Regions from separate parts of the Homo sapiens genome. Here all the other regions are linked to region 1. The links are contacts of gene promoters, found by promoter capture Hi-C in blood cells and fetal thymus (Javierre and others, 2016). All regions are on one chromosome and are shown on one strand. The core of a region is centred on a gene start or on the middle of the fragment in contact, and the rest is flanking DNA. Distances in the headings are between cores, read along the strand shown.

Region 1 (2,994 bases), core at 310-2,809:
CAGAAACAAACAGAATCAGAAGAAAGGAAAGCCTAGAACAAAACCCAAGGAAAACTAAAACTCAAGTGGAGCAAAGGGGAGTGGCCAGAGAGGAAGAGGAAAACCCAAGACTTGTGGGTCACAGAAGGCAGAGGAGGGGAGAGTTTCAAGGAGGAAAATCCAACACTTACGGAGCACCAAAAGAAGAGAAGGGAAGAGTTTCAAGGAGGGGACCAGTGTCTCGTGTTCCTGACAGGAGAAAGAAATGCCTGGAGAAAGAAATGATTGAATATCTACGTCAATATTGAAAGTGGATTTAGCATGAGGCTACTATAGTTTAAGCTTCAGAGACCCTTCATAAGCTCAGGAAGGGGCCCTAGAAACTTCGTATTTGTAATTGTTTTATTCTTCCTAAAGAGGGACTCAAAATTCAGAAACTTCAGGGCCTATCAAATTCTTACCAGTATGATTTCACGGTTAAGAGCTTAAAGCCTGGAGACAAAAGAAGCCTGCTTTCCCTTTCGCTGTTTAGTAACTTTGGATGGGTCACATTAACTTTCAGCCTCGGCTTTCCTCAGTTGTAAAATGGGAATAACGTTTCCTACACCTATAGGGTTATAAGGCTCAAAGAGTACCTACACAGTGCCCCGTACATAATCGATGTTTATAAGCGTTAGCTACCATTGTCACTCTTGTCGTTGTTGCCGTTAGCTACCATTGTCACTCTTGTCGTTGTTGCCAGAACAAGACAATAAACTCCTTAAGAACAGGATGTGGCATCCCCCAAAGCCCATCACAGGCACACAGACATACTTGCCAAGTGAATACTCCACTCTCCCCCAACTCTCTGCGTGTTTAACTAGAAATACAACTTTAATTATATTCTTAGTGCGACACACACGGTTGGCTTTTCAGCAAGATGCCAGTAGCAGCTTCCTGAAAAAGGGTGCCTTCGTCTCAGTGTTCCCCCTTCTTGGTGAGCCCCGAAACTCACAGATCGTTTGTCTCCCGCACCCCGCCGGCTCCTCCCTCCCGGGTCAACCTGGGACAGACGCGGAGATAACGCACTGACAGCATTAGCATTGTGTGTGCCACTTAAAAGGCGCTCAAGGAATAAGGGATGTTAGTACATTTTCCCCCACATTTCCTGGCCCGCACTCATTGCCTGGGGGCTCAGCGGAAGTCGCTTGGGGGTGCGGGGGGGTGGAGGGTGCGGTAGGGATGGAGCCTCGCCCAGTGCTTTCGCCTCCTCAGCGTGCTCCCCGGGCCCGGCTGGGTTCAGGTGTCCCTCCGGGCCGCCGGGGCGGGCTGGAGGCCGGGAGCGGGCAGTCGACGCATCCGCCGCCGCCGCAGGAGGCGGAGCGCTGCACCTGGCGGCCGGTCCTCAGCGCCCGGCCCTGAAACGGGTCCAGCCGGTAGTGACCGGCGGCGGCGACTGTGAGGCCGGGGCCGGGGAGGAGGAGGAGCCGCAGCGGGAGAGAAGGTCGCGCCGGCGGGAGCGCTGGGCCCTCCGCCTCCGTCCTCCGTGGCCCCACCCGGTCCGCATCCCTCGCCTCGCCTCGCCGCGCCCCGCCCAGCCCGTCGCAGCCCCGGAGGAGCGCGCGAGCAGCCCGGGATGGTGCGCGCTGCCCCGACAGCCGCCGCCCCGGCGCCCCGAGCCGCCGCCCCGTGCTCCGGGGACAGGGCTCCCCGCGCCCCGCGCAGCTGAGCGCTGCCGCCGCCGCAGCAGGTGAGTCGGGCCCGGCTTGCGGAGAAGGGGCTCGCAGACCCGCCCTGGCCTCCCCCGCCCCGCACGGGCCCAGCCGGAGGGCGGGTAGGCACCTCAGCCGCGCACACCTGCTGCCGGGAAAGGGGCTTCGGGGCCGGGGCTCGGAGCCCAGCGTGCGCCGCTGTCTCCGCTCGGGCCTCGCTCGCCCGCCGCTCCCTCCCTCCCTCCCTCCCCCGGCTTCCGTGTCGGGTGTCATCTTTGTGGGGTGCTGGGGGAGGCTGCCGCCTGCGCCCCCAGCGCGCCCCGTGCTGGCAGCACTTCCGCAAACGTAACTGGAGTCGGGAAAACAAAGGCGCTGCCCAGGGAGCCCTCGCCGGGCGCCCACAGCTGCTGCCGCGGGTGGGGACGGAGGGTGAGCGCCGATGCCCGGGTCCTCCTCCGCCCGGGCCGACCCGCGCCCTCGCCATAAACATCCCTGGGAAAAAGGAGGAGGTGAGAACCTCCACACAGCCCCAGTGACAAGGACGCGGCCACTTGTGTGGCAGGAGGAGGAAATTGACAACGTCTGCCCTCCCAGGTTAATAAATACGGAAAAAAAAATACCTCTGCTCTGCCAGCCACCATCCTAGCAGACATCCCCCACCTCGTGCTTTACTTCCACTTGGTCTAACATGTCTCTGGAGCCCTTTTGAGATACTACTGGGGGTTGCTAGTCTTTCTGGGTCATATTTATTGCCCATAGAGCAATTTTCCTGCAAATTTAGGTAAGATGGTGGAAAAATACAAACGCAACTTTCCCCCTCGTTAATCCCATCCCCACATGGACAGACAGGTGGGTTAATTACCTTTATGCATTCGCAACCACGGACGTTTCTTTTCATCCCAAAAAGATTGAATAAGCACCTCACAGAACTACTGGAACATATAATACCTTGCTTATTAGTGTGCAAAAGACTTAAAGAGTTGGGGTTCTAATCCCAACTGGTATTTAAATAGATGTGTGTGCTTGGGCATGTCACATCTTCCTGAGCCCCAGTTTTCTCACATGGAAAAGAGGATGGTTGGATATTATAGTGGCCAAAATTTCCCCTAATCCTTCTAGAAGTCCATGATTTTCTAGAAATCTAACCTCTTAAGTATAGATGAATGTGAAGGGTGGGTGGACATACAGTTGACTAAAATATGTAATAAAAGGAGATGTGTACTTGGTAGGTCCTTTCCCCAAGATGTGGGCACTAGCCAGCTAAAAGTGTATGCATCTGTTTTAGCCTTGTTAAGTAAAAGGATAGGATCCTCCTCTTTGGGAA
Region 2 (2,994 bases), core at 144-2,643, 480 kb after region 1:
TTAAGTATTCATATAATAGCCTATAGGTAGAAACAGGCACCTTAATTCACACATTCTGTGCTCTAGCTGTTTTTTGTTCTTTATAAACACTAAGTGAATGCTTACTTTCATCCCTTTGGTCTGTTTGCCAGAAATCTTTTTCTGTTGCCATGCTTCCAGCTCTTACCCATCTTTCAGGTTTAGCTCAGATTCCACCTCATCTAAAAAAAAGCTTGACCTTATTAGACCACAGTGAAGTAGTTTTCCAAAGTCTGGATGTCATAGATCTATTCTTGTAATTCCTCATTTTATGTACATGTCTCCTACTTCTTCTAGACTGTAAATGATGTCTAACATGATGTCATACATGGCATGGGATTTTTCTTCTTTTTCATTAAGAAATTATTTTTTAAGACAGTTAAAGGCTAAAGTAGGGGAAGGAATGGGTAAAAGAAGAAACAATATGATGGTAAGATGATCTTAAAGGCAGCATTTAGAAAGGAAACGAGAGAGACAGTATAAGTTGGAGAAGAAGTAAAAAGGTGAGAAATAAGGATTTTCCTTCAGATTATCTTCTGTTATATCCTATTTGAATTGCTGAATATCATAACCATTTTATGTTTTTCTCTTCAGGGGAATCTGGAGGATTCATTTGGGTTATTAATAATTGTTGATGATAAGATTTGAAAGATTGCTATAATCCTATTTGTCATTAAAACTTAAATACTTCTCTCAAGGATTTCCTAGTTACTATATAGTTACCAAAAGCTATAGTTTTTAGCTTTTGAATTTTAATGAAAAATACATTATTGTGAAGAATTACCAGAAAGAATTAATTTAGGGAGAGAAAAGGGGGGTTAAGGCATGAATGATCTTGAGTAGTTTCTGCCTTGTGGAAAGTTTGAGGAGAATATTTGAGTATGTTTGTTCGCCAGACTGTTGAAGCGAATTCATTCTCAGATCAAAATCTGAGGTTTCAAATGCTGAAATAGGTAGTAATTTCTTTTTATCAGTTTTGACAGCTTATTTTGTGAGCTTATTTTTTAGGGCTGGCTTAAATTCTTTCCCCTATAGATAAAAATTAATTTCTTGTTTAAAAGCAAGTAAACATTTGTCTTTTTTTGCTAGCTTTGGCAATAACGTGGTCATTTTAATTTTTTTTCACTATGTGCCATAAGCTAAAAAAGTGTATATTTTACGTTATTTACATAGCTTTTAGGCAAAGCAAATACCATTTACTTGTGTGATAAATACATAGAAAGCTTATTCTGCAGTTTTTTAAAGTGACAAACTACCACTATCTGAAGTTTATTTGACCAACCATTTGCTGTAAATAATTGGTATGTTATTATCCACTGATTTTTTGACAGCTGGTTCAGTTTTTTCTTTGAATATTAGGTGGTGAGTATTGTTAAGCTGTGTTTAATGGTATTAGGTCAGGATAAGACCTAGAAAACTTGTTTGTACCTTATAAAAGTAATAACAAGCTAGTAAGTTAGAGAGCCAGTATAATGTAGCAGTAGTTTGGATTCAGAAAAATCCATCTTTGCCATTGTGTAACCTTGGAAAGCTTCTTAACCTCTGAGCCTCTGTTTCCTAATCTGTGAAATGGGGACAGAGGTAGTCATTTTTTTGAACAAATAACAAATTTGTTGAGCTTCTAAGTATGTACCAGAAATCATACTATGTTTTGGATAACAGTAGTACCTCTGTCATAAAATCCTTGGAGGATTAAGTTAGAATGCATGTAAAACACTTAGCACAGTGTGTAGAATATAAGTAAGTGATCAATATATTGTAGTTATTATTACTAAAACATCCCAAATGTATTTTTTTTGGAGACAGAGTCTCGCTCTGTTACCCACTCTGGAGTGTGGTGGCACGATCTTGGCTCACTGCAACCTCCACCTCCCGGGTTCAAGCTATTCTCCTGCCTCAGCCTCCCAAGTAGCCGGGATTCAGGCGCCTGCCACAACGTCTGGCTAGTTTTTCTATTTTTAGTAGAGATGGGGTTTCACCGTGTTGGCCAGGCTGATCTCGAACTCCTGACCTCAAGTGATCCTCCTGCCTCAGCCTCCCAAAGTGCTGGGATTATAGGCGTGAGCTGCCACGCCCAGCTTCAAATGCATTTTTAGAAGTTGTCTAAGAGCAAAAACAGTTTCAGGGAATAATTATGTATCAGGATATGTCATTAAATATTTTAATGATAAAGCTATGTGTTTTTAAAAAACATTTGTGTGACATTCAGTATTTAAAAGTTTGGTTAATCATAGCATTTTAGTGTTACACTAGTTTAGTTAATTAAGATTTTTAATGCATACTTATTGGTAACGTTTTTCTTTTAATAGTCTTTATGATTTGTAGAATTTGATGTATACAGTCTTGCCTTGTCCTTCTGTATATGTTAAGAGATTGGTTCCAGGTCCCCCACAGCTCAAGTCTCTTATGTAAAATGGCATAATATTTGCCTATAACCTACATATATCCTCCCATATATTTTAAATCATCTCTAGATTACTTATAATACCTAATAAAATGTAAATGCTATGTAAATAAGTCTTATACTATCTTTTGAATGTACGTTTTTTTATTTTTTTTCTGAATATTTTTTATCCGTGTTGGTTGAATCTATGGATGCAAAGGGCTGACTAGGATATGTAAACCTAGATCACTTTAGAAATAATAACTACAACTACTGTCAGTGGAGTCTTACTCTCTGCCAGACATGTTCTAAAGATATTGAATGTATTGAGTCAACTGATCCTCACCACAACCCTATGAGGGAGGCACTGTTTTATTCCCTTTCTCAGATGAGGAAACTGGATCACAGAAAGGTTAATTAATTTACCCAAGGTTACACAACTATAGTATTACAGCCAGGATTCAAGAACTTGTGCACTTGATCTTAACTACTGTGTAGTAGTTAATTGCTATCTCTCCCAGATTTTATAATCAGGTTAACTATTTGAATAATATGTAAATATAGTCATCATATTTAGAAAATCCCCAAAACAA
Region 3 (2,994 bases), core at 261-2,760, 460 kb after region 1:
ATTTTGGGGTAAAATACTTTGATTTCCTTTAGGGCCCAATCTGTCATATGATGTTAACCAAAGTCAGTTTGGAGTTGGTATCTTAGTGCTACAAAAACTCTGTTTGGTCAGTCTTAGTATCTCTATTTTAATGTGTTTTTGTTTTGTTTTGATTTTTTGAGATGGAGTCTCACTCTATTGCCAGGCTGGAGTGCAGTGATGCAATCTCGGCTCACTGCAACCTCTGCTTCCCAGGTTCAAGTGATTCTCCTGCCTCAGCCTCCCGAGTAGCTGGGATTACAGGCACATGCCACTACGCCCAGCTAATTTTTCTATTTTTAGTAGAGACAGGGTTTCACCATGTTGGCCAGGATGGTCTCAATCTCTTGACCGCAGGTGATCCCCTCAGCCTCAGCTGCCCAAAGTGCTGGGATTACAGGCATAAGTTACTGCACCCAGCTGTATCTCTACTTTATTGTTAATGCTGATTAGTTGTATCTAAACTTAAAATGGAAGGGAGTATAATGAAGCATGGTCTGAACTAGTTTTTCAGGTTTCTTTGAAATCTCCTTGGTCAAGAAAGAGGTCTGTTCAGTCGGTTTGGGGCTAGAATTTTATTTTTGTTTTCCAATAAATTCTGTTTTTAAGTCATTTATTTCCTCTTGCATCTCACTGTATGCAGTTAAAGGTAGCTCCAGCAGCCTGGAAGTATTGCTGCTTAGATATTTTTTCCACCAGATATCCTAGTTCATTGCTCTTAAGTTCTGCATACCATAAAGCCTAGGGCATGGACACAATTCAACTAAGGTCTTTGCTACTTTATAACAAGGATGGTCTTTACTCCAGTTTCTAATACCTTCTTCATTTCCATCTGAGACCTCATTAGAATGGCCTTTACTGTTCATATTTCTACCAACATTGTGGCTGTGAGCACTTAAGTAATCTCTAAGAAGTGCCAGATTGTATTAATCTGTTCTTGCATTGCTATAAAGACCTACCTGAGACTGGGTACTTTATAAAGAAAAGAGGTTTAATTGACTCACAGTTCCCCAGGCTGTACAGGAAGCATGGATGGGAAGAATTCAGGAAACTTACAATCATGACGGAAAGCAAAGAGGAAGGACGCATGTCTTACATGGCCGGAGGAGGAGGAAGAGAGAGCAGGGGGAGGTGCTACACACTTTTAAACAATGAGATCTCATGAGAACTCACCATCACAAGAACAGCAAGGAGGTAGTCTGTCCCCATGATCCAATCCCCTCCACCAGGCTCCTCCTCCAATACTGGGGATTAAAATTCAGACATGAAATTTGGGCGGGGACACAAATCTAAACCGTATCACCTACTTTCCCTGCATTTCTTCTTTTCTGAACCCTCACCAGAATCACCCTTAATGCTCTGTTTAGGACAATCTAGGCCTTTGCTAGCTTGCTCCTCAAATTCTTCCAGCCTCTACCCATTACCCTGTTTCAAAGCCATATCCATATTTTCAGGTATTTGTTATAGCAACAGCTCCACTTCTCAATAACAATGTTCTCTCTCAGGCCATTTTCTGCTGCTGGGACAAAATACCACAGATTGGGTAATTTATGAAGAAAAGAGATTTATTTGGCTCATGGTCTGGAGGCCAAGATGTCCAAGAATATGGTGTCAGCAATTGATGAGAGTCATCTCATGGAGGAAGGCATCACATGGCAAATGAGTGTGAGTCAGAGAGAACAAATGGGAGTTGAACTTAATCTTTTATCAGGAGCCCACTCCTGCAATAACTAACCCATTTCTATGATAATGGCATTAATCCATTCATGAGGGCAGAGCCCTCATGACCTAATCGCCTCCTAAAGGCCCTACCTCTTAATATTGTTAAAATGGCAATTAATTTTTTTTTTTTTTTTTGAGACAGAGTCTTGCTCTGTCACCCAGGCTGGAGTGTAATGGTGCAATCTCAGCTCACTGCAACCTCCGCCTCCTGGGTTCAAGCCTCCTGGGTCTCAGGAGGCATGTGCCACCATACCTGGCATATACCACCATGCTACAGGCCACCATACCACATGCTACCGGCATGTGCCACCATACCACCATGCTACAGGCATGTGCCACCACACCACATGCCACAGGCATGTGCCACCATACCTGGCTAATTTTTTTTTTTTTAGTAGAGACTAGGTTTCACCATGTTGCCCAGGCTGGTCCAAACTCCTGACCTCAAATGATCTGCCTTCCTCAGTCTCCCAAAGTGCTGAGATTACAGGTGTGAGCCACCACGCCTGGCCAATTAAATTGCAATGTGAGTTTTGTCAAGGACATTCAAGCCACAGCAGAGTCTTTGGGTGGGCATTTCACTGATGGTTCAAAAGAAATGAGGATAAGTGCCAGATCTAGCTGAAGGGTATGTTTTCAGCAACTCTATTATTAATTAGCCATGTGACCTTATTAACTTATAATATCTCTAGCCATAACATTTAGCAATTGATACCTGTATTAGTCCATTTTCATGTTGCTGATAAAGACATACCTGAGACTGGGCAATTTACAAAAGAAAGAAGTTTAATGGACTTACAGTTCCACGCGGCTGGGGAGGCCCCACAATCATGGCGGAAGGTAAAAGGCACATCTCACATGGTAGCAGACAAGAGAAGAGAGCTTGTGTGGGGAAATTCCCCTTTTTAAAACCATCAGATCTCATGAGACGGATTCACTATCAGGAGAACAGCACAGGAAAAACCTGCCCCCATGATTCAATTACTTGCCACCAGGTCCCTCCCACAACACATGGGAATTCAAGATGAGATTTGAGTGGGGACACAGCCAAACCATATCAACACCTGTCTCCAACAGAAATGTTACAAACATAAATAGCCTCTTTAACATCAAAGGAAGGAAGAATATATTTCTTATTCATATGTTATTAGTAAAGTAATTGCTTTCATATTTATCTCTGAGATAGTAAAAAAATATAATTTTAATGTTTTTCTGTCAAATATGTCATTCTTATCTTTAATAAAACCTTTATTT
Region 4 (2,994 bases), core at 319-2,818, 390 kb after region 1:
CAAGACTTAATTTGTAACTCAAGATTTATCTGCGTTTTTCTATGCAACAGAGTATTAGGTGTCTAGCAGCCTTTCTAGTTAATTGCTAATTAATTATATATTTCAAGTTGCTTGTAATATGTTTCTTTAAAAAGGGTGGCGAACTTTATGGTAGGTTACAATTATAAGATTACACAGTTTCCACCACTGATTTAAAGATAATTAATAAAAGCTTAAGTTTCAGAATGGTGAGGACACTCTTTCAAAAATGTTAACTTTGGGCTTATTAGGGGCAGTAAGAACTCTTTCAAATATTTTCTCTTCAAAAGCATTAAAATTTCCTCTACCAAAATACACAGATCACAATTTTTGAACAAGATTTCTATGCACCCTAGTGGCATAATGAGTTACATCCCATCCCATCCCATTCCATACCAACTGTTCTACCCACCTGGGGTAGGAGCAGGGAACCTTCTGTAGCTTGTATTATTCCCTTTGAAGGTCAGGAGAATATAACCTCTCTCCACTTGAGAACCGAATCACAATTGTCATCTAGAAGGTTAGTGTATCAACTGATGACTGGTTTTCAAATCAACTGAAAAGTATACAAGTAGGGCACAATGCCAAAGAAAATTTACAGATGGACATTTGGTATCGCAGACTAGACTAAGCAAAGAGCAAACTAAGTATGTGCTTAGGGCATCATAAAAAGCCAAAAACCGCCTAAGTAGCTATAAGAGGGAAAAGCAGACTTTAATGAACAATATCGCACTTATTTTATAGTTCAGGGTTTTTGTTTTGTTTTGTTTTCTGAGACAGGGTCTCACTCTGTTGCCCAGGCTATGTAGTGCAGTGTGCAATAGTCTTGACCTCCTGGGCTCAAGCAATCCTCCCACTTCGGCCTCCCAAAGTGCTGGGACTACAGGCGTGAGCCCCATTCCTGGCTGATTTTTTGTTGCTGTTGGTAGAAATGAGGGTCTTTTTATGTTGCCCAGGCTGGTATCAAACTCCTGGGCTCAAGCAATCCTCCTTACCTCAGCCTTTCAAAGTGCTGGGATTACAGGCATGAGCCACCACACCCAGCCTTATAATTCAGATTACAAAAATTGTTTTTAAATACATATGAGAGGCTGTTGGGGAGGCGTCACAGCCTTTTCAGTGGTTGAGGCTTCTAAAGGCAATCAACCCTTCTTTATATCTCAGAATAGAACAAGTTGACATAGTATTTAATTAATCAACCACAATCCCTAAACAAGTCTTTATTTGGATACTGAAAACTTTTAATTCAGTTTATAAAATGGTTTTAGTCAATAATAGGGCTGTTTTCCAAGTAATTGTCTTCACATGACTCAGTATTTCAACAATGGGTTGAATGGACTGCAGTTTTAATAGGAGAAATTGTGAGCTAATACTTCAGTGGCTGTTCACTCAATGAATGGACTAGAAGCAATACACCTGAATTCAAATCCAGTTTTTTTTTTTTCATTTCTAATCTGTGAACTTGAATTACTTACCTTGAACTTAGGTTTCTATATGTATAAAATGGAAATTCTGTGATAAACTTCAGGAGTTGTTGTGATTATTAAATGAGATAATGTGAGATTATCTCATTAAGGTGGCTGAATCTCTTATTTGGATGTTAGAAGGATTAGAAATGAGACATTTATTTGAAGAAGTTTATTAAAATTCTTCACAACCTCCCTGTAGTGATCTATTGCTCTTCTGTTACTACAACATATGCTTCTACTAAGTCACACCACTCATAGATCCATGGATTGATGGGCAGTTGATAACATTTATTTGGATCTTATGTTAAAAAAATACTCTGCAGCAATAGTTGGTGTAGAGTTGTTTTTTTAACCATCATACTCTGCTTAATTTTAGGAGCACTGCAGATCCTTAAAAGTCCTAGAATAGCAGTTCTCAAACATGGCTGGAAAAAGACCTATGCCAGGGATCCACCCTAGGCCAGTACTGGTATTTCAAAACCGGAGATTGATATTAAAAAAAAAAAATCCCTACATGATTCTAATTGCAGCCAGGATTGAGAATCACTGTCCTTAATTTTTTTAATTAATTAACTTTTAAAAATTAAAATTATTTTAATTTTATTCACTAATTCTTATCCATTTTCCAATCCTTTTATCTACATCCCCTAGTTTCTCCCCAACACCCCATTCCATCATTGACTAGCAGTCACAAAGAACATAGAGTTCCTCATTTGGGTTTTCTTAATGACCAGTGGGAACTTTCTAAATTAGTGAAGTTCAATGCTGACAACACTGAATTTACATTAAATGCAAAAGACATTATCCCTCACTGGGAACAAAACACTACTGCATTAATTTAGACAATAGGTTTTCATAGAATCACATGATCAGCAAGAAGTATATAATTATTCTTCAGCCACCTGAGAAATCTTTACCTATAGATTCATGCCCTCTATGGCCAAAATCTCCAAGAAGTGTTTCCTACTTTTATTATTCTTAGCCATATTGTTAAGAATGTTCTTTTGTTTAACTAATTTAAGCTGCTGTCTTCAGTGGAAATGGAGAACAATACATGAATTGCTTGCTTACTGATCTTTTGTTTAGTTGTGAAGGCTCACAAATTCACAATTAAGCCTTCTTTTCATCAGGTTAATAATAAATAAGTTGTCATTATAAACTACGTCTCATAACCATTTGCTGTATATTTGTCATTCTTCTTCTCTGAACACAATTAGACCACTGTATGATAGAATAGTTATTTGCCTTTGCTTTAACATGTTATCTAAAGATAAAAGTGCATTGCTTAAGATTGAGGTCATCATTTTAAGGTATGATTACATTCACATGCAAGCACTTTCCATTTTTTTCTTACTTTATAATTTTAAGATATAAAATGTAGTCACTGGGTTATTAAATATAATTACCTTGCCTTATATCTGAAAGCAGAATGCAAACATAAAGCTTTTTTGCTTTGGTAATTTCCATAATTTCACACATAGCATTAATAAGGCCCTGGGTGTAATTC
Region 5 (2,994 bases), core at 292-2,791, 350 kb after region 1:
AAATGATAGGGTATTGGGCCGTATTTGTCAATCTCTTGTAAAGAAACCAGGGTGTTTTTATATTTACCTGAATATGTCTTTCTACCTCCACCACCTTTTCCATATTCATTCATGTAAATTATAAAAGTAAGGCAGTTACTGAGCCCAATATTCACTGATAACAAAGCAGGAAGCTTATGGGTATGAATCAGAGTGTGGATGACTCATTAAAAGCCAAATGTTTGTACGGAAAGCTCCCCTAAAATGGCACAAAAGCAAATATTTATAAACATGTTAAGAAAGCATTGTGGAACTCTTGGGAGGAGGGGTTAAAATATTGCCACACATTCCTAATTACACTATTACAATAAAACATTGCTTTGCTACCATGAAGTCTGACCCAGGCTCTAAACTCTTTAGCAATGGGGTTGCTCTAATTAGCTATAATAAGACTGATCCTGACTCACAGTGTGTCCGGAATTGGTGGGTTCTTGGTCTCACTGACTTCAAGAATGAAGCCACGGATCCTCGCGGTGAGTGTTACAGTTGGCGCGTCTGGAGTTTGTTCCTTCTGGTGTTCGGATGTGTTCGGAGTTTCTTTCTTCTGGTGGGTTCGTGGTCTCGCTGGCTCAGGAGTGAAGCTGCAGACCTTCGCGGTGAGTGTTACAGCTCTTAAGGCGGTGCGTCTGGAGTTGTTCGTTCCTCCCGGTGGGCTGGTGGCCTCGCTGGCTTCAGGATTGAAGCTGCAGACCTTCCCGGTGAGTGTTACAGCTCATAAAAGCAGTGTGGACTCAAAGAGTGAGCAGTAGCAAGATTTACCACAAAGAGCGAAAGAACAAATCTCCCACAACATGGAAACGGACGCAAGCTGGTTGCCACTACTAGCTCAGGCAGCCTGGTTTTATTCTCTTATCTGGCCCCACCCACTTCCTGCTGATTGGTAGAGCCCAGTGGTCTGTTTTGACAGGGCGCTGATTGGTGCCTTTACAATCCCTGAGCTAGACAGAAAGGTTCTCTAAGTCCACACCAGATTAGCTAGATACAGAGTGTGGACACAAAGGTTCTCCAAGGCCTCACCAGAGTAGCTAGATACAGAGTGTCGATTGGTGCATTCACAAACCCTAAGCTAGACACAGGGTGCTGATTGGTGTTTTTACAAACCTTGAGCTAGATACAGAGTGCTGATTGGTGTATTTACAATCCCTGAGCTAGACATAAAGGTTCTCCACGTCCCCACCAGACTCAGGAGCCCAGATGGCTTCACCTCGTGGATCCCGCACCGGGGCTGCAGATAGATGGAGCTGCCTGCCAGTCCCGCGTTGTTCGCCCGCACTCCTCAGCCCTTGGGTGGTCGATGGGACTGGGCGCCATGGAGCAGGGGGTGGCGCTCGTCAAGGAGGCTCGGGCCGCACAGGAGCCCACGGAGGGGGTCGGAGGCTCAGGCATGGCGGGCTGCAGGTCCCGAGCCCTGCCCCGCGGGAAGGCAGCTAAGGCCCGGTGAGAAATCGAGTGCAGCGCCGGTGGGCCGGCACTGCTGGGGGACCCAGTACACCCTCCGCAGCCGCTGGCCCGGGTGCTAAGCCCCTCATTGCCCGGGGCCGGCAGGGCCGGCCGGGCCGGCCGGCTGCTCCGAGTGCGGGGCCCGCCAAGCCCACGCCCACCCGGAACTCCAGCTGGCCCGCAAGCGCCGCGCGCAGCCCCGGTTCCCGCTCGCGCCTCTCCCTCCACACCTCCCTGCAAGCTGAGGGAGCCGGCTCCGGCCTTGGCCAGCCCAGAACGGAGCTCCCACAGTGCAGCGGTGGGCTGAAGGGCTCCTCAAGTGCCGCCAAAGTGGGAGCCCAGGCAGAGGAGGCGCCGAGAGCGAGCAAGGGCTGTGAGAACTGCCAGCACACTGTCACCTCTCAACAGTACTTCTTATTTTGAGATATCATTCTATTTTGATAACTTCAGCCTCTCTCTATTTTTCCTTTTTTTTTTTTTTTTCCTGAGACGGAGTCTCGCTCTGTTGCCCAGGCTGGAGTGCAGTGGCGCAATCTCGGCTCACTGCAACCTCTGCCTCCTGGGTTCAAGCAATTCTCCTGCCTCAGCCTCCCGAGTAGCTGGGATTACAGGCATGTGCCACCATAACCGGCTAACTTCTGTATTTTTAGTAGAGATGGGGTTTCGCCATGTTGGCCTGGCTGGTCTCAAACTCCTGACCTCAAGTGATCCGCTCGCCCAAAGTGCTAGGATTACAGGCGTGAGCCACCACGCCCGGCCTGTTTTTCTTTCCTTTTTTGAAGACAAGGTCTTGCACTGTTGCCCAGGCTGGGGTTCAGTGGTGTGATCATAGCTCACTGCAGCCTCCAATTCCTGGCCTCAAGCAATCCTCCTGAGTCGGCCTCCCAAAATGCTGGGATTACAGGTGTAAGCCACTGCACCTGGACTATCTCTATTTTGAATGCATCAAAAATACATGTGCTACTTATGACAATTTTAAGTTTTCTGTAGATATTCCTCTTAATTGCAATCTGTACAGAGGACACAAGAAAAGGGCGATTAGAAATGGAAATTTGTTTCTTGATGAGGAAATCTTCAAGTAATGTAAGTATACATTTAAATTCTGCACCAGGATGTTGCCTATTTTTTTAAATGACTTTCTTTGTCCTCCAAGTAAATATAGAATGGCTGTTTGCTTTAATTCTAACACATACTTTTGGCACATTCCAGGTTCTTGCTTAGACTTCTCAGGCTCTAATTTGAAACCCCAGAGTCCTTTACCCAGACTGATCTGGGGCCTATGGTAAGTCAGCTCCTGTTAGAAGCTGTCTTCAAATAGGAGGTGATGATGGAGGTGGTGGAAGGCTAGTGTTTCTCTATCTGGTCCACATTTGAAAAGGCATCAGAAATTCAGGAGGTAATTAGGCCAAGGGGCAAACCCTCCTGCTAAACCAAGCTTTCTGTCCTTTTTCTGTGACTTCTACTGGGGATCTTGAGTTTGTTGGCATGTTTTAAAACGGATATTGAACCATGTAG
Region 6 (2,994 bases), core at 143-2,642, 320 kb before region 1:
TGTGAAAGCTTAACTGTCATTTTTAACACCGCTTCTGTGAGAAATACGAGATCAGTACTTAGCACTCCAAGAAATAGTTTCTCTCGTCTCTAATTCAGCTTAACAAATATAGCGTTCACTGATCATCTAGTGAAGAGGGAATGAGGCAGCTGAAAGAATCCCATTTCCTCTCTGAAGTTTAGCAGAACTCTTTTAGCTACTGATTATAAGATCACAACGTACTTGAGGCCATGGGCCATTTCTTTCCTTCATTTGTGTTCCCCTTCCCCCTGAACAACTTATCACATAGTATGAGCACGTTGTAGATGTTAATGTATACATAGATTAGATTTGAAATTGGTAATGACCTCACTGTCAATGGAAAATAGGACACTGATCATCCATACCATACAGTGACAAAACATTTCTTAAATGATCAGCTTTTGTTGCTGGTAACCAGGTGCCTCTCAGCAGCAAGGCTTAAGAGATGAAGTAACTGGTGCAATAAAATATTATAGTGGAAATTATGAGCACGAAGGCCATGGGAAAGGTTCTGCTTGCACTAGAAACTACCTAAAAGACTGTCTTGTTTCTTGTACCAGTGGGGCTGAAATAGCCAAAAAACAAACCTAAATTTGCTTCTACAGCTTTCAGCATTACAGTGCAGCCTTTCTAGGCATAGGTTAGTAGAGTGGGATCCTGTGAATGGAAATATTTGGGTAGGTTCTAATGAATCCAACTACAAATCCTTCACTTGTGTTTCCCTTCCTCCAAAGAAATCTATCACATAGTATAAGCACATTGCGGATGTTAACATACACATAGATTAGACTTGAAATCAGTAATGGCCTCACTATCAATGGAAAATAGGATACTGATAATTTGTACAATGTAATGACAAAACATTCCTTAAAATATCACCAATTGTTGCCTGAATTAACAAACTCCACTGAGTCTTAGTTGTTAGTAGGAGCAGTCCTCCTCTTCCATCTGATAACCTGTAATAATTTCACCTGAGGTGGTTTATTTGCAGGAAGATGACGAATCTCCTAAATGTTAATTCTCACTACTTATCACTTCCAGACCCTGACCTATTCCATAATTAGGTTCAAATCCTCAAAGACCTCAAGGAAGATGGGGAAAGAGAAACATTAGAAAATATGCACGATGGTTGCAGTCTACACAATTTATGAGGCCATAGTAGGTATTTGTAACTCCCTCTTCCACTTCCCTTCCCATGCTCCCTTTGCTCAGTTATCATTTTAGCTAGGTGTTATTATTTATCAGTCAGAGTGACCTGAACCTTCATTCCTGAAATATCTGAACCATTGTGGTTCTTGCTTGGCTTGGTTTGCTCTAATCTTGTAAATTTTACCATGGATATGGAAGGAATTGCTCAGATATGGATATGAAAGGAGTTGCTCAGAGAATGTCTTGCCTTTGAGACATGGTCTTCCCTCTGTTTTGTAGTACCACCACTTTTCCCACTTTATGATTAGGATTAATTGTCCCAGCGAATACAGTAATCCCTTTCTTTCCTTGTTGGTTCAGTGCCTTGAAGACCTCAAAGTGGCTGATGTGGCAGTCTCAGCTTCCATTCAAAGGAACCCTTCTAGTGTTTCCTGGAAAAAGTATTCCTTCCATGGAAACTAAGAGCACAACATTGTGAGGTTGGAAACAAAAGTTATGTGAGTAGGTCATTAGGAATAATAATGGAACCACCAATACTTTTACACTTTCATTTTCAGATCTAAGTATTCTGGCTATGGAAGAAATAGCATTATATATTAGTTGCTGGCTTGGGAAATATACAATAACTTGTGGGACAGCAACCTAGTCTTACAAGTGGCAACATAAGTTGTCAATAGATTATTCTACCATTTAATCAAGTCAGATTTTTCCAACAGACATGAAACCATTTCTTCAACTCAGATTCCTTAAATCTCTCATCAGTGAGACTAGCCAGATCATAGTGGGAGAAAAGAATCCTATGTTCTTAAGCCCACACGTGATCAACATGCCCGTTGCTAGGGCCAAAGTGTTCATGGGCCCATTGTACAAGCGCCAGGGTAGCTAGGGGAGGCAGCTAACTGGCATCCACAGGATTGGCCATACTCTTTACTTGATTACTGAGAATCTGTTTTACAGTGGATGCCTTTTAGTAAGCATTAATTTGGGACACAGATATTCTCACTCTGCTTACTCTGAGAGGCCCGTCCTAAAACTCTTCCTCAGGCCTCCCTTTAACCATTCCTCAAATTCTGTTTTCCAACCCGCTGACTCCTTGGCCAAAGTGCCACTTGCCTGTGAATCAATGTCGATCTCTACTTCTGTCTGTCTTCCAGTTAGGTTTTGAATCATACATCATGAACCCTTCCACCCTGAGGTCTTTCCACCCTGCTCAGGGGCATCCTCAGAGCAGGCTCTATAGTGTTCCCAATTGGTCATGAAACCAATAAACCTCTATAACCTTTCTAGTCAGAATGGGACAATCTTCTATCTTGTTCTTTTTACTTAAAGCCCTCTTCTCCCTTCCTTCTCCAGGGCTCCTACCATAATCTTTTGTATAAAAGATAAGGAGTTTTAAAACCTCAGATGGCTTAAGTTTTCCCCATGCAAAAAATTCCGGACACACACAAAAAAGTAGAAAAGAACCTGGCTACCTGCTTGAATAATTGGAGAGGAAAAAATTACAGAGATCATCCCTGAAACACTGTAAAGTATGTATAGCTGATATTATTATACCTATTTTAAAGATGGCAGAAAGGAAATGTGGAAGGAGTAAAGTGACTTTGCCAAAGCTTCCATAACTACCTAAGAATATGATCAGGGACCAGGATTATGCCTTCTGGTACAGTGAGAGGAGAGTGAATGCACAAACCCCATGATCGTGATATGTCTGGGGACCTCTGATTTAAGGAGTGGAGAAAGAGAAGTATTGATTGGTAGAAGAAAAATGAAGATGCAAAGAGCACTCATGAGTGGGTGGTCCCAGAGCTCTGAGTAGAGGGTAAG
Region 7 (2,994 bases), core at 338-2,837, 310 kb after region 1:
ACAATTAAGAAAAGTAAATGAATGGGGATCAGGAATCCCTTTCAGGGCTGGTTAAGAAGTGGCTGAACTTCCTCTGCTTCCCTAATCTTCATCTCTACCACCTGCTTCCAGTCCATATAAACAGATCGGGGCAAGAGGAGAGACTGTTGGTGAGTCATCTGCTTCCTTGGGGGGGCTGCAGAGTGAGGAGGTGCTTTTCCTGCTCCCTCCTCACTCACCAATTTGATGTCTGCTTATACGTAGACGGCCTGGCCCACCTCTGTCCAATGTGACAAGTAGAAAAGAGAATTGGAAGGAGGCAGAGAGAAAGGGTAGAGTGCTGCAGCTCCCATGCCTACCATTTAGCATTTGGTGATGGAAGTGTGATTTCACAGATCAAAGGAACGCATAGAAAGCAGCCAGCCTTGAGCCTGTCTCACCCATATCCCACCCAAGAGAACTGGCTGCCAGGAAAGTGGACCCTGGTAACAACAACAACAATAAAAACCAGTGGGGTGAATCACCAAGGGTAGGAGCAGATGGTAGAGACTGTGAAGTGGGAGGCATCTGTGGGGCTTCTGGAAAATTCACATAAGCATCAGTGAGGAAGCCAGTATTTGGATGTCTGCCACCAGCTGCCAGCCCTGGCCAGGCAGGTGAGAAACACTTGTCTGTCTCTCCTGTTCCTCCTCACTAGTCCACACAGATGGGAGGACTGCACAGAATAGAGGAGGATGCTGCCGGAGCAGGTGTGCTACTCCACACCCTGAGTCCCTCTGGTGGGGGCTGGCCAGGGCTGGCGGAGTGGACATTGGTCATTGCATTGGACCCAGACGGAAGCTTTAAATTGGACTTGCGAAAGGAAAATATCTTGGGCTTCCAAAATCACTAAGGAAAACTCAAGCTGGAAACTGCTTAGGGCAAACGTGTCTCGCATTCTATTCGCAGTCTCCCCTCTGCTCACTGAGATAGATTCATATCTGACTTGCCTCCTTTGGAAAGGCTAATCAGAAATCCAGAAGAATGTAACCGTTTGTGTATCAGCTATCTGTGACCTGGAAGCTCCCTCCCCGCTTCGAGTCTTCCTGCCTTTACTTCAAGTCGTCCTGCCTTTCCAGATGGAACCAATGTACTTCTTACATATGTTGATTGATGTCTCATGTCTCCCTAAAATGTATAAAACCAAGCTGTGCCCCGACCACATTGGGCACATGTCTTCAGGACTTCCTGAGGCTGTGTCATGGGTGCATCCTCAACCTTGGCAAAATAAACTTTCTAAATTAACCGAGCCCTGTCTCAGACCTTCAGCGTTCACAGACTATACCGAATCGGGCTGTTAATCTTTGAAAGTGACTGGAACCCTAGAGATCTAACCAAGATATTGTCAGGGAACTCAGCAGAGAGATCGTGAACATGGCAGAACTGAAGGCAAGTGACTGTAGAAAAATAAATTATTTCACGCCTGTACTTCCTACGAACAAGGATTGTTTAGTAAACTAGATGTGGTAGCCACGATTTTCATGATCAACAGAGTGGCAACAGGCAAGACTGAATGATGGGGCTTTGGGGAATTGCACTGGCGATGAATCACCCTGAGATTATGCAGGTGGGGTTTCCCCTGAAGGGACTGGAACTGCTCACTGCCAGCTGTCCTCAGAAGAGGTCAGTCATGGGGCGGGAAATCAGAATGCTGGGACTAGAGTCAGTCTGACTGGATTTCCCAGGAAAGGTGACTGTTGAGTCCCCAGGGCACTTCCTCCTGGAGGGGGAAGGACCTGTGCCTGGCACTGACTTATTCTCTGTTTTCTGTTTCCTTTCCATTGTCCCTGAACCTTTATTGTGATCTGATCAGTGTCTCAAATATTTTGACTTCTGATGTCCTGAGAGGAATTAAGGGGAAAGGTCCACAACCAACCCCTGAGGCAAAGCAGAGGAGGGTTATGACTTCTGTCCTCAGGCCACAGCAGTGGTGGCAGCCACAGGCACCAGCTGAGAACAGCTTTGCCCCAGAGGGACCAGTTTCTGAATACACATGACAGAGCACCTTGAGAGAGTCTCAAGATTCTTTAGCAGAACAGGGGACACTGGGAGTAGGGGCAGAGGGCACTCATTTTTGTCAATAAAACTAGTGTGAGTCAAACTACGATGGCTTCAGTTACACTATAAATAGAATTATCAAACAAGGGGACAAGCTCCTTGTCCCTACAAGTGCTTAAAAAATAAATATTTTTCTTTTAAGGAGTTTTCTAATGGTGTTCCTATGACATTAATTTATTAAACATTTAACATACTTTGCACTTACTGTATATCAAGCATTGTGCTAGGTTCCTTACATACAATTTCTATTAATAACCTGGTTTTGTAGTTGAGGAAACAGAAGCTTACAAAGTGAAATAAGTTGCCTTAGGTCTTGCAAATAATCAGTAGTAGAGACCCCCAAAGGTGAGCACACTAGAATACACCAGCCTAGTCGGGGAGGATGACCATCATGGAAAACCACTCACTGATGGAGATGTGCACAAATTGTTTTGGGCGCATATGACTTAGTGTTATGGGAAAGGGAAGAATAGAGGGAGTGGTCAGAGAAGGTATCTTTTTTTTTTTTTTTCTTGAGACAGAGTCTTGCTCTGTTGCCCAGGCTGGAGAGCAGTGGTGTTCAATCTTGGCTCACTGCAGCCTCCCCAGGTTCAAGTGATTCTCATGCCTCAGGCTCCTGAGTAGCTGGGATTACAGGTGTGTGCCATCATACCCGGTTAATTTTTGTGTTTTTAGTAGAGACGGGCTTTCACCATGTTGTCCAGGCTAGTCTTGAACTCCTGGCCTCAAGTGATCCTCCCACTTTGGCCTCTGAAGGTGCTGGGATTACAGGTGTGAGCCACTTCCCAGGCCCATTCAAGGCTTTTTAAAAGACGTGTCTCCAAGGCTGAGTCTTAAAGATGTGCAAGCAGTTAAAAGAAGAAGGAGGAAGCCTCCTGGGGGCAGGTGAGAGGAGGCTGACACTCCAGACGAAAGGGC

Evidence for each region. The method cuts DNA at HindIII sites, captures the fragments that hold promoters and counts their contacts. A CHiCAGO score of 5 or more calls a contact.
Region 2: a fragment that was not itself captured here is called in contact with the fragment with the promoter of MFSD6 in region 1 in 1 of 17 cell types (fetal thymus); the score reaches 5.0 in fetal thymus.
Region 3: a contact is called between a fragment that was not itself captured here and the fragment with the promoter of MFSD6 in region 1, in 2 of 17 cell types (total CD8 T cells and fetal thymus). The highest score is 6.6, in total CD8 T cells.
Region 4: a contact is called between a fragment that was not itself captured here and the fragment with the promoter of MFSD6 in region 1, in 8 of 17 cell types (activated CD4 T cells, M2 macrophages, M1 macrophages and 5 more). The highest score is 9.7, in activated CD4 T cells.
Region 5: a fragment that was not itself captured here is called in contact with the fragment with the promoter of MFSD6 in region 1 in 5 of 17 cell types (activated CD4 T cells, M2 macrophages, M1 macrophages and 2 more); the score reaches 7.8 in activated CD4 T cells.
Region 6: a contact is called between a fragment that was not itself captured here and the fragment with the promoter of MFSD6 in region 1, in 1 of 17 cell types (erythroblasts). The highest score is 5.2, in erythroblasts.
Region 7: a fragment that was not itself captured here is called in contact with the fragment with the promoter of MFSD6 in region 1 in 1 of 17 cell types (activated CD4 T cells); the score reaches 5.5 in activated CD4 T cells.

What each region holds. Positions count from the first base shown.
Region 1 is chr2:190,406,796-190,409,789 of GRCh38, forward strand. It overlaps MFSD6 (major facilitator superfamily domain containing 6), which reads left to right and starts at 1,560. Exons shown (of 8, transcript NM_017694.4): 1 at 1,560-1,708. RefSeq lists an enhancer at 831-880 and a silencer at 1,141-2,180. The HindIII fragment of the contact is 2,674 bases long and covers 320-2,993 here.
Region 2 is chr2:190,891,787-190,894,780 of GRCh38, forward strand. All of the region lies in intron 1 of GLS (glutaminase), which reads left to right. Among named protein-coding and RNA genes, the nearest start is that of GLS, 12 kb to the left of the region's middle. The HindIII fragment of the contact is 308 bases long and covers 1,240-1,547 here.
Region 3 is chr2:190,870,110-190,873,103 of GRCh38, forward strand. No RefSeq gene overlaps it. Among named protein-coding and RNA genes, the nearest start is that of GLS, 9.2 kb to the right of the region's middle. RefSeq lists an enhancer at 1-252. The HindIII fragment of the contact is 3,363 bases long and covers 1-2,994 here.
Region 4 is chr2:190,797,978-190,800,971 of GRCh38, forward strand. No RefSeq gene overlaps it. Among named protein-coding and RNA genes, the nearest start is that of GLS, 81 kb to the right of the region's middle. The HindIII fragment of the contact is 2,719 bases long and covers 210-2,928 here.
Region 5 is chr2:190,759,646-190,762,639 of GRCh38, forward strand. LOC124907946 (a long non-coding RNA gene) reads right to left here and starts at 856. Exons shown (of 2, transcript XR_007087780.1): 1 at 447-856. RefSeq lists an enhancer at 164-1,363. The HindIII fragment of the contact is 2,741 bases long and covers 172-2,912 here.
Region 6 is chr2:190,085,364-190,088,357 of GRCh38, forward strand. It overlaps a transcript of AKAP19 not described here. Among named protein-coding and RNA genes, the nearest start is that of MSTN, 24 kb to the left of the region's middle. The HindIII fragment of the contact is 2,772 bases long and covers 7-2,778 here.
Region 7 is chr2:190,717,343-190,720,336 of GRCh38, forward strand. No RefSeq gene overlaps it. Among named protein-coding and RNA genes, the nearest start is that of NAB1, 70 kb to the left of the region's middle. The HindIII fragment of the contact is 1,540 bases long and covers 818-2,357 here.